Regions from separate parts of the Homo sapiens genome. Here region 2 is linked to region 1. Evidence: promoter capture Hi-C in human tissues and cell types (Jung and others, 2019). All regions are on one chromosome and are shown on one strand. Each heading gives the region's core, a stretch centred on a gene start or on the middle of the fragment in contact. The rest is flanking DNA. Distances are from core to core; before and after follow the strand shown. Region 1 holds the start of DIP2C (disco interacting protein 2 homolog C). Region 2 overlaps DIP2C (disco interacting protein 2 homolog C).

Region 1 (7,374 bases), core at 3,128-5,627:
AATGAGATGGTAACCCCTGCTTCCCCCGGCCATACAGAGGATTGAAGATGTAAGTACCTGGGGGACGCCAGCCACAGTGTTTTACCACCTACTCTTCCAGTAGCTTTGGAAAAGGAAAAAAAAAAGTCACAGAATTGGGGCACACAGGGGAGAGTGCAGCATGAACAATTTTCCATTAATCTGATAAAGAGGGAGGTAGTCTAGGTGCAGCTCTGAGATGCATTTCTGCAGGGGAGCCACTCCCTGAGAGCTTTGTGTTTCCTTCCTGTTAGCGATCTCATGAATAAATAAACTCTCTGCCTGGCACCGATACCTCCAGCCTGCTCTGATTCAACACATTCCTTTGCTACTCTTTCCCACCCCAGTCAGATTTCCTGAAATCTCGAGCCCATTACACGTAAGTAATTAATTTTTCACTCATTAGAATTGGCTTGGAATTCAGTGAGACAGAAAAAAATAGGTGAGGTCCTGGAAGTTAGGGTAAATAATGGTGACGAATTACCCGTCAGCAGACAGTAAAGCAAGACCTAGAAACGGGTCCTCAAATACTAGCTGGCATGGTAATTAATTAATTGTTTAATTAGATACATGTAGCTGTCGCTCTGTGGAGCTCACAACACTGTTTTCGAGACTTGTCTAGGCAAAACTGTGGAGTAGCTCAAAAACGTGACTTTAATCCCTGATGGAAATTTCGGGGGTTTGGCAGAGCTTTTGAAGCCAACAGCCCTGGGAGTCTATTTGATTCATTCTAATAAACATCTATTGGGCACCTTCATTCCTGCCTGGGCAGACATTTGAACCAGGTTTTTACACTTAGGAACACGTAAGATGGCAAGGTGTTCACCAACCACACGTTCCGCAAGGCTGCTCACAGGTGGAGCAGAATGAGACCGAGGAAGGGGCTGCTCCTCTCCGCTCCTGTGCTGGTCTGCACTTCCAGACAGAGGCACTATGCTGTTTGTGGTGTCAGTCAACACAATGGGACAATTATAGATAAGCCAGCCACCAGACAAAACACACACATAAATGACCAATCCCAGGGAGAGCAGGTGGATAAAGAGGTGTGTAATTCCACAGGTGGGAGAGAATCTTTCTAACCAGGAGATTTGGGAAGGCTGCATGGAAGAAGTGGCGTTTGAACTTGGACTGGACTGGGTGAAATTCCGTGTGCGGCTATGACTCAGGTTGTGGGGAAGGGGAGACGACAGGAGGGAGCACATTAGAAAAACAGACACCACAGGTGGGGACTCTCCATGGACAGCTGGGAATTCTGCAGCTGAACCTCGGAGCTTGAAAGAGACGGGAGGAACAGAAAGCAGGAGAAATGTTTAGTGCAGGGCTCGTGAGACCATTGGTGTCAATTAAGGATTTCTTCAGTTTGCAGGCATAGAATCATGGGTTGTACAGCAAGGGGCCTGTGGTCTGTGCTAAGAGGGACTTTTTAGAAGAGTGATCTGACAGCCGTGGTGGGAAGACTGGAAGGAGGCTCTGAAGGCCTGACATGGGCCATAGCCAGAGGCCTCGACAGGAGCAGGTGGCGCACAAGAGAAATGCTGTGGGTAGAAGTTCTTGAGGGGACTCAAAGTGAAAGGGAGGCTGCTCTCAGAAATAATGTACATGGGGGAAAGTATTGGTAGGTAGGATGAGTTTGATTGTGGACAGCATGAATTTCAAGGAGATGGTAGGAGTTCCAGATAAAGATGATATCTATCAGGCTCCTGGAAATGGCAGTCTAAGACCGAGAGCCCACACTCACACGTGTAATGTGTAGGTGCCCAAAGACCTGCTGAAAGGAACCATCAGCTCAAAATCTGAGTTTGCAATTGATGTGTTTAATGCAAATTACAAGTTTTCTTTGCAACCAACATCAGTCATAGGATCATATGCAAATGATTAAGGCCCATCAAAAAGAATATATATATATATATATATATATATATATATGTATTTTTTTTTTTGAGACTGAATCTCGCTCTGTCACCCAGGCTGGAGTGCAGTGGTGCGATCTCGGTTCACTGTAACCTCCACCTCCCGGGTTCAAGTGATCCTCCTGCCTCAGCCTCCTGAGTAGCTGGGACTACAGGTGTGTGCCACCATGCCCAGCTAATTTTTTGTAGTTTTTAGTAGAGATGGGGTTTCACCATATTGACTAGGCTGGTCTTGAACTCCTGACCTCATGATCCACCTGCCTTGGCCTCCCAAAGTGTTGGGATTACAGGTGTGAGCCACCGTGCCTGGCCCGCGAATATATATTTTTTATTCCGACATTATACCGCCCTAAATGGACTTGACACCATTTATTGCTTGGAATGCACAGTGCATCTTTGCTGTAATGAAATGAACTCAGGGCTTTGCTTTGGAGACTGGGGTTTGAATCCTGGTTCTGCTCCCCTTTCTGTCTCTAAGGACTTTTATCTGTGACGTGTAGGGGCTGTGTGGGATCTTCCCCACGGCCCCTGCATTGCTGGTCGGTCTCTTTATCATGCAAAGGGGAGAGATGATGGTGGGGCCACATGCTTGTGCCACCCGTATCTGTTGCATTGAACGCAGTCTGGAGCGAAGGACGAACCCACGGCGCACACCAGGCGGAGGCACACGGCTCGGCGCAGGAAGCACACGGGTTTGGGGTTCCTGTTTCCCAGCTCATCGTCGAATGTCATTCTCACAATTCCCCACTGAAAGGACCGATCCTTACAGGAAATGCACACACCTCTGGCGGTTGCCACCACTGCTAGATCCATGGGAAGGGCAAAGGTGGGTGAGGCATGGGCTCTGTCCTCCAGGCGCTTACACTCACAAAGAATACAGAGAAGATAAAAAAGGTCAAACGTGATGAGGGCGGGAAGTGGCCGGTGCAGGAAGAGAAAGGAGAGAGATTGTTCTGGACCTGGGGTCAGGGATGGCTGTGGGTGGCAGGGGCAGAGAAGGGGCAGGCTCTCCGGGGTGGAGGCCGGGAGCAGAGGTGCTGCGGGTCAGCCGCGTTGTTTGCAGGAGCCGGAGTGTGGAGGCCGCAAGGCTGCCGTGCAGGTGGGTCCCGGCTGGTGGGGGCTCCGGTCGAAGCGGGGTGGGGGGGTGGTGGGGGGTAGGGGTAGGGGGGTGAGGTGGGGGACCTGTGTTCCTGCGGCCCACTCTGAAAGGGGAGTGAGTGCAGCTGGGCCTCCGGGAGCCAGCGCTGGCCAATGTCCCGTGGAGGACGGGGAGGCGAGGAGGTCTTTAGGAAGCTCTGGGCCTAAGGGAGGGGCCGGGCTGGGAAGAGGGGGTACAAGGATGAAAAGGAGGCCAGGTCGTCGGGGCTTTGTGCAACAGACTGGGGAGGATGTGTGGAGACAGAGGAAGGTGATGATGAAGACAACGGGGGCGGTTCTGAGAAGCAGAACTTCCAGTGACTAAGAGTCACTGGAAGCAGCTGGCTTCATTTAGGGTTTGTGGCGTTTGGGGTGTCTAGGGGCTTCCAGGGAAGTTTGCTCAGTGGACGGTTGGAGATGCGAGGGCCTCCCCAGATGGTCAGGACTAGAGGCACAGACGGGGCTTCAGCCTCGCCGAGGTGGCACTGAGGCTGGGAGCTGATGGCCCCACAAGGAGAAGGACGGTGGGAACCCTGGGGCCTGCAGCCTGTTCCGGGAGGGCTGGAGCCAGGCTTTTCGGGCCCACCTGGCATTTGGAGATTAGGTGACCCAACCTTGTCTTCCCATCCCCTTTTCACAGATGGGGACACTGACCCTCCAGGCAAAGGCTCAGAGTCGCTCAAGGTCATCTGCTGGTCGTTGCATTCGAAACTTCCAGCCTAGCGCTCCGTCTCCGCCTCTTAAAATGTTCATTAACAAAAAACCAGCCCTCCAAGACCCGGGGCACTGCGAGTTTTCGCGCAGACGTCAAGCTGCGGCTCCAGGACGTGATTTTCGCAGGGAGCCGGGTGGACCAGGCTCTGGGGCCGGGCCCGCAGGCTCCGCTGGACGCGCAGAGCCCAGGACAGACAAGACCGCCCCGCCCCGCCCCGCCCCGCGGGCCCCGAGCCCCCAACCCGCCCCCGAGCGCGCCCCCGGGAGCGCGCGCTTCGCCGACGCGGCCGCGCGCCCCCCCGCGCGCTCCCGCTCCTGCGCGTCCTCGCGCCCCGCGCGCGCGCGCCCTGCCCCCGCGGCCCCGTGACGCGCGCGCGCAGAGACGCTCCCGCCGGGCCGGGGCCGAGAGCAGCAGGGCCGGGTCCGGGTCCGCAGCGCCTGCGGGGAGGGGCCGAGCGCGCGCGGGGCGGGCCGGGGACCGTGGGGCGCGGGGGCGCGCGAGGCGGCCGTGGCGGGGCCGCGCTGAGGAGGCGCCGAGGGGAGGGAGGTCCCTGCGCGCCCGCCGCCCGCCTCCCGCGCCCGCGCCGCCGCCTCCTCCTCGGTGCGGTTCCGCCGGGCGCGAGGAGCCGCCGAGACCTCCGCCTGCGAACAAAGAGGAGGCCGTGCGGGGCGCGGCGCCCGCGGAGCATGGCGGACCGCAGCCTGGAGGGCATGGCGCTGCCCCTGGAGGTGCGGGCGCGCCTGGCCGAGCTGGAGCTGGAGCTGTCGGAAGGTAACCGGGCCCCCGCCCCGGGCCGGGCCGCGCTGTCACCGGGGAGGGCCGCGCGCGGAGGGCTGGGGGCGCGGGGCCTGCGGCGGGGCGGGGGCCGGGCCCGGAGGGGGAGGTGCGACCCCAGCCCGGAGCGTGCGCGTCCCCCGGACCCCCAGACCCCGCGCCCTAGGGACGTTTGTGAGGCCGCGATCCCCCGCGCTCTGGGGACGTTTGTGGGGCCGCGATTCCCCGCGCCCTGGGGGTGTCTGTGGGGCCTGGGATCCCCTCGCGCTCTGGGGGTGTTTGTGGGGCCGCGATCCCCCGCGCCCTGGGATGTTTGTGGGGCCGCGATCCCCCCGCGCCCTGGGGGTGTCTGTGGGGCCTGGGCGCCGCGCGGGGACGCAGGATGCAGCGGGCCCGGCGGGATCGGCCTTCCCGTGCGCTCTGCGCTGGAGCCGCGGCGTCCTTGGTGCAGCAGCGCGGTGCGCGCCACCTCCTCGCTGGCGGGTTCGGCCTGGAACGCCCGGCCAGATTTCAATGCGAAACTTGTCGTTGGACCCCGGGTTCGATCTCTGGTGGCTCAGGCCGTGCAGCGGTCCTGGCGCGGCCCGGGGGATCCCACCCCCATTGTTCGCGGGCGCTGCGCGGGGAGGGCTGGGCGGAATCGTCAACCTCCCCCCGGGCCGGGCTCCGGCCTTGCCGTCCTGGTCCTCTCGTAGGAGGGTTTGTGGCAGATCAGCCACCGCGGTCTTATGGAGGGTTGTGTACGCCTCTTATTTGCTCTTCATGGCGGAGATCATGTGCTCAACTGTCATAAGTTTCAGATCGGGCTTTGCCAGGTCTTTTCCCCAAAACCACTGAAGTTCCCAAATCTGAAATGTTTGATGTGCATTTAGCCGTCTCTGGGCTCATCCTGGTCAGGCCATTCCTGTAACGTGGGGTGGGGTGGGGGTGGGCCGGCGCGTCTCACATTTATATTTGGAGCAGTTTAGCATGGTGAACTTTTTTTGGGTAACGGTTTTGTGAGGGCCGGCAGCCAGAAAGTAAACTCATTCGTGCCAATTTTCACCGGCAGGGAGGAGCTGGTGTTGACTTTATGTTTTCCTTTTTAACACTTTCAGGGCAAAGAAGGGAGTGAGCAGGGGCCATGGTGTGCAGCCAACTGCCTTTCCAGACTTCTGGGGACGGGAAATGGTACTGTTTTTCAGTTTCAGATGTGGGGTTCCGCGAGGTGTGTCAGTGTCCTGTAACGTGACACAGTTGGCGGGGGGCAGAGTCTTCCAGGCCTGTGGGCTTGGCTGCTGCCCTCCTGAGGAGCTGAGGATGAGGAGGGCATGGCTAGGAGGCGGGAGCTGCCGTGTGCAGGGTTCGGATGTAAACTGGTAAGTAGATTGTGCAGTGCAGACAGCTCGTTTGGTGGGTAAGGAGTGTATCATTTGCAAAAGGCCCACCCTGGTTATCTGATTGTGTCAGCCTTGGGTAGGTTTCCCGGCTTGCGTCTCGGCCCAGGTGCACCCCTGCCTGCAGCACCCTCCGTGTTCGCTGTCTCAGGACAGGGGCTTCTGTGCTGCCTGCATCACACTGATGTGAAGTGTCAGTGCCCCATCCAGGTCAGCAGAGCGTAGCGCCCCTGAGCTCAGCAGGGCGAGCCCCATCTGAGGGTTCCCCCACCCACTGCTAGCCCAGAAGTTGGACCCACATTTGTTCCCAGAGTCTGGGATGTCTATGGGAATGGGTGTCCTGTGTTGGGCATTGTGGCCTTTTGAGGTGACGACACTTGCCTGTCAGTTGCTCTTGGAGGGTGAGTGATACTGTCTTGCTGCCCAGATGATGGCAAAGCCACTTTCGACGAAGGTGTGCTCAGCCGAATTCCCTGTGAACACCTTGCGTCTGTACAGGTTTTTTAAAAAGGGCTTAATGAGTTAGTTTCTTATTGAGAGACCAGGCAGAGAAAGGGGTGTGTGTGTTTGCATGCAGGAAGCCTAATTATATTTTTCCTTCCACATGAATCTTGCTGAGATCTGAGCTACACATTTAAGAAGAAAGGGTGAGAGGGTTGCTCCGTGGCTCTATTCAGCCTCTCTGCACCCTCCGGCCTGTGCTGGCCCCACTGCCTCATCTGTTTGCTGGATGGTCTTTAACTTTGCTGTGAAGTGTGGGTTTGCCCAGGTTGAGTTTATGGGGGTAGTGCTGTAAGGTCATTTGGAATTCTCTGTCTCATAACCACATAAAACAGTTTTACAGGCTTAAATTAGATGAATCAACTTGTTTTCCAGTATTGCTTAATAGAAATCCAAGAATTGAAGGATCAAAATTCTGTGTTTCTTTATGTTATTGGACTTCAAAAATTCCTCAATGTATCTGCTTTCAGAGTGAAAGCTGAAAACAGCTGTTAATGCTGAATTATTTCCCATCTTCAATCAAAATTCAAGTGGAGAGAATTCTTTAAGTTGGTTGTCATCATTTTATTAAAATATCAGAAAATATTATAGAAACATATGTGGAATTTCCAGTGCTCATTTCCTACAGAGGAGGATGGAAAAAGTTCCGTTTTAAGCACATAACATAGACTGAAGGAAAGAGTAGAGCATTCCCCTGAGGTTCCTGTGTGGGCTGCCAGCCTGCGTGGGTTACGCATTGTGTGGGTTTCTAGACCCTGGTCCAGTTCTGCTGTGCCCGCCTGCTGGGCGCCATTACATGCACTGCTGGTGTCCTGCTTTGCAGGGCTGCAGGGGCACTTCCTGCTGCGGGGCCGAGGGCTCCATCCTTCTTCCACTGCCTGTCCCTGTCCCGTGCCCTGTGCCCCCTCACAGGGGAAGGTGAGGCCAGCTCACACCACAGAGC
Region 2 (7,374 bases), core at 1,874-4,373, 270 kb after region 1:
TTAGAATTTGCTGCCGTTTTTGCTGCTGAATAACGGTGGTTCAGCAACTGAGAAATTCTTGTACAGGTGTGTTAAGACCATGAACAGTCACTTAGAAGAGCAAGATGAAGTTAAATGTACAACAGAATTACTGTCAGATGGGCTGATATGTTGCTTTAGACTTTGGAGGAAAGAGGGTCTTTTTATCCACGTTGGACAGAGATATCGGTGACTTGGTAACAGGCTGTGGCCGAGGGCTTCTTCCTTCCTTCTTTGTGGCCCAGTCTTGGTATATTCTGACTACAGCGGCTGTTCGTGTCACTCAGCCCCTATTCCATTTAGGTCTCAGTCCTTCCCGAGGTCATAAAAGTCAGGGTAGAACCTAGCGGTGAAATACAATGCCCTTGTGTGAAGCTGCATGGAGCAGCCTTGGTATGCTGTCATCTTGCGGTGCACGGGACTCACAGGCGGACAGGGAGGCCTATCAGAGCCCCGACAGGCACAGTGGACAGGGAGGCCTATCCGAGCTCCGACAGGTGGACGGGGATGCCTATCTGAGGCCTGACAGGTGCAGTGAACAGGGAGGCCTATCGAAGCCCTGACAGGAACAGGTGGACAGGGAGGCCTGTCCGCGCCCTGACAGGTGCAGGTGGACAGGGAGGCCTGTCCGAGCTCTGACAGGTGCAGGTGGACAGGGAGGCCTATCCGAGCTCCGACAGGTGGACGGGGATGCCTATCTGAGGCCTGACAGGTGCAGTGAACAGGGAGGCCTATCGAAGCCCTGACAGGAACAGGTGGACAGGGAGGCCTGTCCGCGCCCTGACAGGTGCAGGTGGACAGGGAGGCCTATCCGAGCCCTGACAGGTGCAGGTGGACAGGGAGGCCTATCGAAGCCCTGACAGGAACAGGTGGACAGGGAGGCCTATCCGAGCCCTGACAGGTGCAGGTGGACAGGGAGGCCTGTCCGAGCTCTGACAGGTGCAGGTGGACAGGGAGGCCTGTCCGCGCCCTGACAGGAACAGGTGGACAGGGAGGCCTATCCGAGCCCTGACAGGTGCAGGTGGACAGGGATGCCTATCCGAGCCCTGACAGGCGCAGGCAGACAGGGAGGCCTATTTGAGCCGACAGGCACAGGCGGACAGGGAGGCCTATCCGAGCCCTGACAGGAACAGGTGGACAGGGAGGCCTATCCGAGCCCTGACAGGCGCAGGCAGACAGGGATGCCTATCCTAGCTCCAACAGGCGCACTGCCACATCCTCACGTGAGGCAGAGCCCAACTGTGCCTTCGTAAGTGTCCAGTTAGTGCGCTTGAAATCGCCCTGATTGCCAGTGCGATGACTTTTCCTGGAATGCCTTTTGGTGTCATTATTTGCTTTAGTTCTCTGATGAGTTCGTCTTTACTAAATTGGCCATTTTTGTTATTCTTGTCATTTTAGTAACTTTGTCGTCTTTCAAGTCTGTACCTTTGCCTTTGTTCCCCAGGTAAATCCTGCGTGGTGTGTTGTGCTGTCTCGGCGTGTCATAGCCTCCCACACCAGAATCCCACAGGGGCCCTTGCTGGGAGGGTGATTCTGGGTCACACCCCAGACGTCATGAGCTAGAAGTTCGGGGGTCCCTGAGGCAATTCTGACATCTGCCAAATTAAGCTTGAGAATCGTTGGCCTGGTGGAATGGTATGATTCATCTGAACCAAATTAGTTGGGCTATTTAATGGGAACATACTATGTGTGGATATTGAGAGTTCTGGATTGTGTGTTTTTCTGTATTTTCAGAGATATGAAATATTTAATGTCTCAATTCTTAAAGTGCTATAGAGCATTTTGAGACTACCTATTAAAAAATCTTGATAGAAAAAATTTCCTTGAATTCTGTTCTATTCCCCGCAAATGTTGAAGTCTGTTTTTTATGGTCCAGTGCGGGGGCGAACAAGGGCTCTGCCTCAGGTGAGGGGAATGGACTGCCAGCTGCACCTACAGAGACCCCTGCACCGTCCAAGCCCACAGCTCTGGGTGATGGTTTCCCAGGTCCTGCCGGCCTGCAGCGTGTGCCTGAGGAGGACGCTTTTGATCTAGTTGTGGCATCAGCGTCTTGGTCCTCTGTCTTGTTCATTTGATTTATTTATCTTAAAATTTGAAAACCTTGACTCTTTCATTGATCAAACCAGTTGATTTTCAGAATGGTGCAGCATTCATTATAATTAGCACAGTATTTTAAAATGGGGCTTTTCTCGGTCCACTTGGATAGGTAGGGGCTAGTATTCTGTTACACAAAAATTTGAATTTAGAGACTTTAACTTCTGTGCTTTAGGATGCATTGCCTGTGTGTGGGCTGAGCTGCGTGGGTTTGGAACGCGTGTGAGGAGCTCAGTCTTTATTAGGAGTGGACAGGGCTTGGGCGTGGTGGTGCTGAAACCTGAGCCCGGGGCTGTGGGATGCTGGGGGTTCCAGACGTGACTCAGCGGCCCGATGTTCTCGTGCCTCCATGAGGCTGAATGCTGGTGTGAGGCTGAATGCTGGTGGTCTCTGGAGAGATAGACGCAGGGAAGGACTTACTGCTCCACGGATGGTCTCACCCTGTTGAGAAGAGGGGGCCTGGGGCAGTGGGAATGAGGAGTCTGCCCTCTGCAGGTGACAATTCTGTCCTGAGAATCAGAGCTGGGGTCAAGCAGGTGTGGCCCTGAGGCTCCTCCCAGCATGACCAGCAGAACAGCACATCCTGGAACGTGGTAGACATTCGGGTCCGATGTATCTCTGTCCGGTCTCCTGCCTAGCCACGGGGCTACCGTACAGCATGATCACCTCGGGCCCTTCCCAGGATCGCATCTAGGATGCAGCCTGTTGTAGCCGCGCTGGGGAGGGGGCTGTGGGACTGTGGGACTGTGGGTGCTCATTGAAGCTGTGATGATCGCTTTCCCCACCCGCTGATTCCTGTTTTTCAGGAGTACCAGTAAGTAGCCGGGTGTCAGCAAAAATCCAGCAGCTTGTCAATACCCTCAAACGACCGAAACGACCACCTTTACGAGAATTCTTTGTCGATGACTTTGAAGAATTATTAGAAGGTGAGAGAACTCTTTACCACACGTTTCTTCCAGATGCTCCTATGGTCCCGTAAACAATGATATTTTTTTCTGCAAGGCTATTTTACTTTTTAAGAGCAGTAATCGTGGCATTTGCCGCATGATGGGAACCCAGGTAGGGAGCGGGTGATGTTCCCAGGCAGCCTTGGTGTCGGCAGGTCTCTAAACCTGGTTGTTAGTCGTCCTCTGTGGGAGTTGATTTTGTTCTGTGACCCAGGTCAGGTCTCTCTCTAAGAACTCTGTAAGAGTATAGAAATACAAGTAAAGTATAAACATGTAGAAAAACAAGTAAACTGGGGAAATCCTTCGCTGGCAGCAAAACTGGCGTGTGAAGTGCTGTCTCCTCCCTCCTCCTGCTGCCTCTCCTTATAGGTGCCGGAGCTGCTGCCTTTGCCCCTGAATGCTCCTGGGTCTTTTTAGACAAACAACTTAAAGTTGAAATAAAGCACAAGAACTGCTCATTGTAGCAAACTTGAGCTCCTTAGTATCTTATGTGTTAAACCACAAGTAGAAACGACTGATTTTGTCAGTCATAAAGTGACAGACAAGTCTGTTCCAGAAATGGAAGAGATAATTTCCATTCTTCACCTCTCTCAAGGATTGGGCAGGTGGTATTTATGATGCACTGATTTTAGTTTTACTCAGGAAAATACTCACTCCGTGTTCCTGTTATTCAGAGTACTTGTAGCAGATTTAAATGTACAGCTCAGGCCAGGTGCGGTGGCTCATGCCTATAATTCCAGCACTGTTGGAGGTCAAAGTAGGCAGATCACTTGAGCCTGGGAGTTCGAGACCAGCCTGGGCAATATGGCAAAACCCTGTCTCTACCAAAAAAAAAAAAAAATATATATATATATATACACACACACACACACACACACACACACACACACACACAAATATATATGTGTGTGTATATATATATTGCCCAAACCTGTCTCTACAAAATATATATACATTTTATATATATATACACATTATATATATACACATTATATATATATATATGTACACACACACACACACACACACACACACACACATACATACACACTCTAAAATTAGCTGGGCGTGGTGGTGCATGCCTGTAGTCCTAGCTACAGGCTAGGACTGTAGCAGAGGCTGAAGTGGGAGGATAACCTGAGCCTGGGAGGTCGAGGCTGCAGGGAACTGTGATCATGCCACTGCACTCCAGCCAAGGCAAAAGAGAGAGACCCTGCCTCAGAAAATATATTTATCATTAATCTTTCAGGACAAAATATAATTTAGCAAGATTTAAGCAATTTGGGGTCCAAAATCACTAGCTGATGTTGGTAATGGAAATTTCAGCATGGCTGTTTGAATTCCAGCCTCTGGGCACAGTGTGCAGCGCAGTTTCCACCTGTTATCAGTTTGCAGCTGTGTGCAGGTCCACCTAAGCGCTCTACCCACATGCTGCCTTGGAAATTACAAGAACTAATTTTTTACCAGCATCCGTGATGCTAGTGTATAGACCCCAATTCTAGAAAAGCATGCTTTTCTGTCAGCTAATAAATGTACAGCTTAAGTATAAATCTCTTGGCTTCTTTATAAAGAATAAAAAGTAGCCATGCTAATGTGGATGCATTTCTCTTGTAACCTCTTGTATTCAAACGATTTAGTTCAACAACCGGATCCGAACCAACCAAAGCCGGAGGGGGCCCAGATGCTGGCCATGCGCGGAGAGCAGCTGGGCGTGGTCACGAACTGGCCGCCGTCGCTGGAGGCCGCACTGCAGAGGTGGGGCACCATCTCGCCCAAGGCGCCCTGCCTGACCACCATGGACACCAACGGGAAGCCCCTCTACATCCTCACTTACGGTAATCCCCAGGCTCACTCTCTGCCCTTTGCCCACCCCCTCGCACAGCCACTCCCGAACGCAGGAAACTCAGTGTCCGTTTACATCCTCACTTAAGGTAATCCCGAGGCTAACCCTCTGCCCTTTGCCCACGCCCTCGCGCAGCCACTCCCGAACGCACGAAGCTCAGTGTCTGTTTAAATCCTCACTTAAGGTAATCCGGAGGTTTACCCTCTGCCCTTTGCCCACCCCCTCGCGCAGCCACTCCCAAACACACAAAGCTCAGTGTCTGTTACTTCTGGTGACTGATTGATTTTGTGCTGCCTTATGTTTCCGCACAGAAATAAATGGAATCTCAAGAAACTCTTTAGGAAAACTATTTGATTTCAATATAAAAAGTTATTTGTTAAATATTTTTTGAGTTAAAACCAGAAATGGCTGCTTGAAGCAGTGACCATAGCTCTAATAAGATGTTAGATCTTAAATACATGTGTGATTTATTGAAATGCATGCTTTCAGCAAAGATTGGTAGTTAGAAAAAATGTCTATCTAAACTTTCTGGTATGTATCACTCAGAAAAATCAAAATCGGTTTCCAAGGGACTTTTTCAGAAGGCCAGAGAAACCGCCTTTCCCTTAAGTCTTCAGTACAATTAATACAGTCTGTAAGCTTTTTGCACATGGTTAACGGTAGCAGAGAAGTGCGTTTCTCTTTTTTCTGTGGATAAGAGGCCATGGAGGGGCAGATTGTCAGGCTATTTTCTGTCTGCTTCAGCTTTACAAAGAAAGTAGTAACTAAAAGGCTGGCATGATGGCTCATGCCTGTAGTCCCAGCTGCTTGGGAGCTGAGGCAGGAGGAGGAGGTCGAGGCTGCATTGAGCTATGATTGTGTCACAGCACTCCAGCCTCAGTGACAGAGCAAGACCCCATCTCTAAAAAATTAATCAGTTAGAATTTTCAAAAGATACGAAAATAACTGAAGGACCAAAATGGTTCATATTGTGTCTGCATGTCTGAGATTTATGTTGATAGCTGAAATTTTAAACATAGCTGTTTCAGTTCTAGACTCTTGGGATAGTACAGTACATAGTTCCGCCTGTTGTCAGTTGGCAGGTTTTGTTTTTAACTTTAGCTTTTGTTGTTACAACACTTTTCTGATTGCAGGTAGGAAAGGAATTGATTTCTACATTAGCCATGGAGGTCAAAAGCCAGATGCTATGTTGAACCGTGGAACCTCAGACCCTAGCCTTTCAGGGTGGGGCTCTGGGAGGCAGCAGCTGTCAACCTGTGCATCTCAGGACAGATGTGGGATTTGGGCCTAGGAGCATATTGGGTTTGGGAGCGTGCGTTTCGTAGCCCCTTTGCTTTTATGGCTTCATTGAGTAGTTTTAAATGGACAGTGTGTGGCATCCATGATGAAGCATAAACTTTATTTTTTTAATTATGCTCTCAGAAATAGGTTTTATTGAGTCAAAAGCATGAAAGACTTTTCTATGTGACCCTCATCTCCGGCCAAATTCAGCCCTGGAGCTAATTGTGTACTTGGAGTCGCTGCTGCATGACAGCTGATGGCCTCTGAGGCCTCCCCGCCTACATGCGGGGAATTCCAGGAGCAGCCGAACTGTTCGGGTGCATGTGTTCACTCTGAGAACTAATAGACGTTCACTTGGGTGTTTTAAGCATGCAGTATGCATTGGCACAGAACTAAGCTTTGGGAAATCAAAGACAATAAGACACAGTTCTCACGGGGCTTCTGATGTCGATCAGAAGGATCGCCACTCTCTGCTGCTGGAACTTTGAACAGGGTTGGTGTCTTTCCCCTTCCTGCAAGGTTAAGATGAATGGGAGACGTAAGACACAGACTGAATATTCATATGAAAAGTTGGATTCTTCAGAACTCATGCCCACAACCAAAGCATTTTAACTCCTTTATATGTTGTATTTTAATCATCTATATGTTGTATTTTAATTATCCATTTTAATTGCAGGCTGTGGGTTGATCTTGGTTTTTACTTGTTAAAGGAATGTAAGAAAGCAACACATTTCCAAATTTAAGATTACAGCTTATCAGATGAAAACGCAGTGAACACTGGAAAGCGCCATCTGCGTAGAAACGCTAACGTAGATGAACGCATGACTGGGTGTTGCTACGATGAGTCAGAAACAAGCTCGTCGAATGAGAATTGTTCTAATACTGAGTGATTTGGTATCGAATGAGAATTGTTCTAATACTGAGTAATTTGGTATCGAATGAGAATTGTTCAAATACTGAGTAATTTGGTATCGAATGAGAATTGTTCTAATACTGAGTAATTTGGTATCGAATGAGAATTGTTCTAATACTGAGTAACTTGGTGTAACTGAAGGGGCTGTATTCTCTAAAGTCCTGCCGTTTCCCCTCAACCCCCAAATTTAGCTTCCTACGAAGCGCTGGGGTAGCAGAATTCCCAGCGGATAAACTTGGGATCAGTAACAGAAAGTGTAGGTGGCTAATGAAAGCCAC

What was found. Contacts are between HindIII fragments. The study calls those that stand out against the background at their distance.
Region 2: a fragment that was not itself captured here is called in contact with the fragment with the promoter of DIP2C in region 1 in 4 of the 25 tissues and cell types used here (H1 embryonic stem cells, IMR-90 fibroblasts, bladder and 1 more).

What each region holds. Positions count from the first base shown.
Region 1 is chr10:686,671-694,044 of GRCh38, reverse strand. It overlaps DIP2C (disco interacting protein 2 homolog C), which reads left to right and starts at 4,377. Exons shown (of 37, transcript NM_014974.3): 1 at 4,377-4,551. The coding sequence starts at 4,467. RefSeq lists an enhancer at 3,067-4,002. The HindIII fragment of the contact is 17,538 bases long and covers 1-7,374 here.
Region 2 is chr10:411,433-418,806 of GRCh38, reverse strand. It overlaps DIP2C (disco interacting protein 2 homolog C), which reads left to right. Exons shown (of 37, transcript NM_014974.3): 7 at 2,919-3,038; 8 at 4,697-4,894. Among named protein-coding and RNA genes, the nearest start is that of DIP2C-AS2, 210 kb to the left of the region's middle. RefSeq lists an enhancer at 2,086-3,285. The HindIII fragment of the contact is 5,876 bases long and covers 186-6,061 here.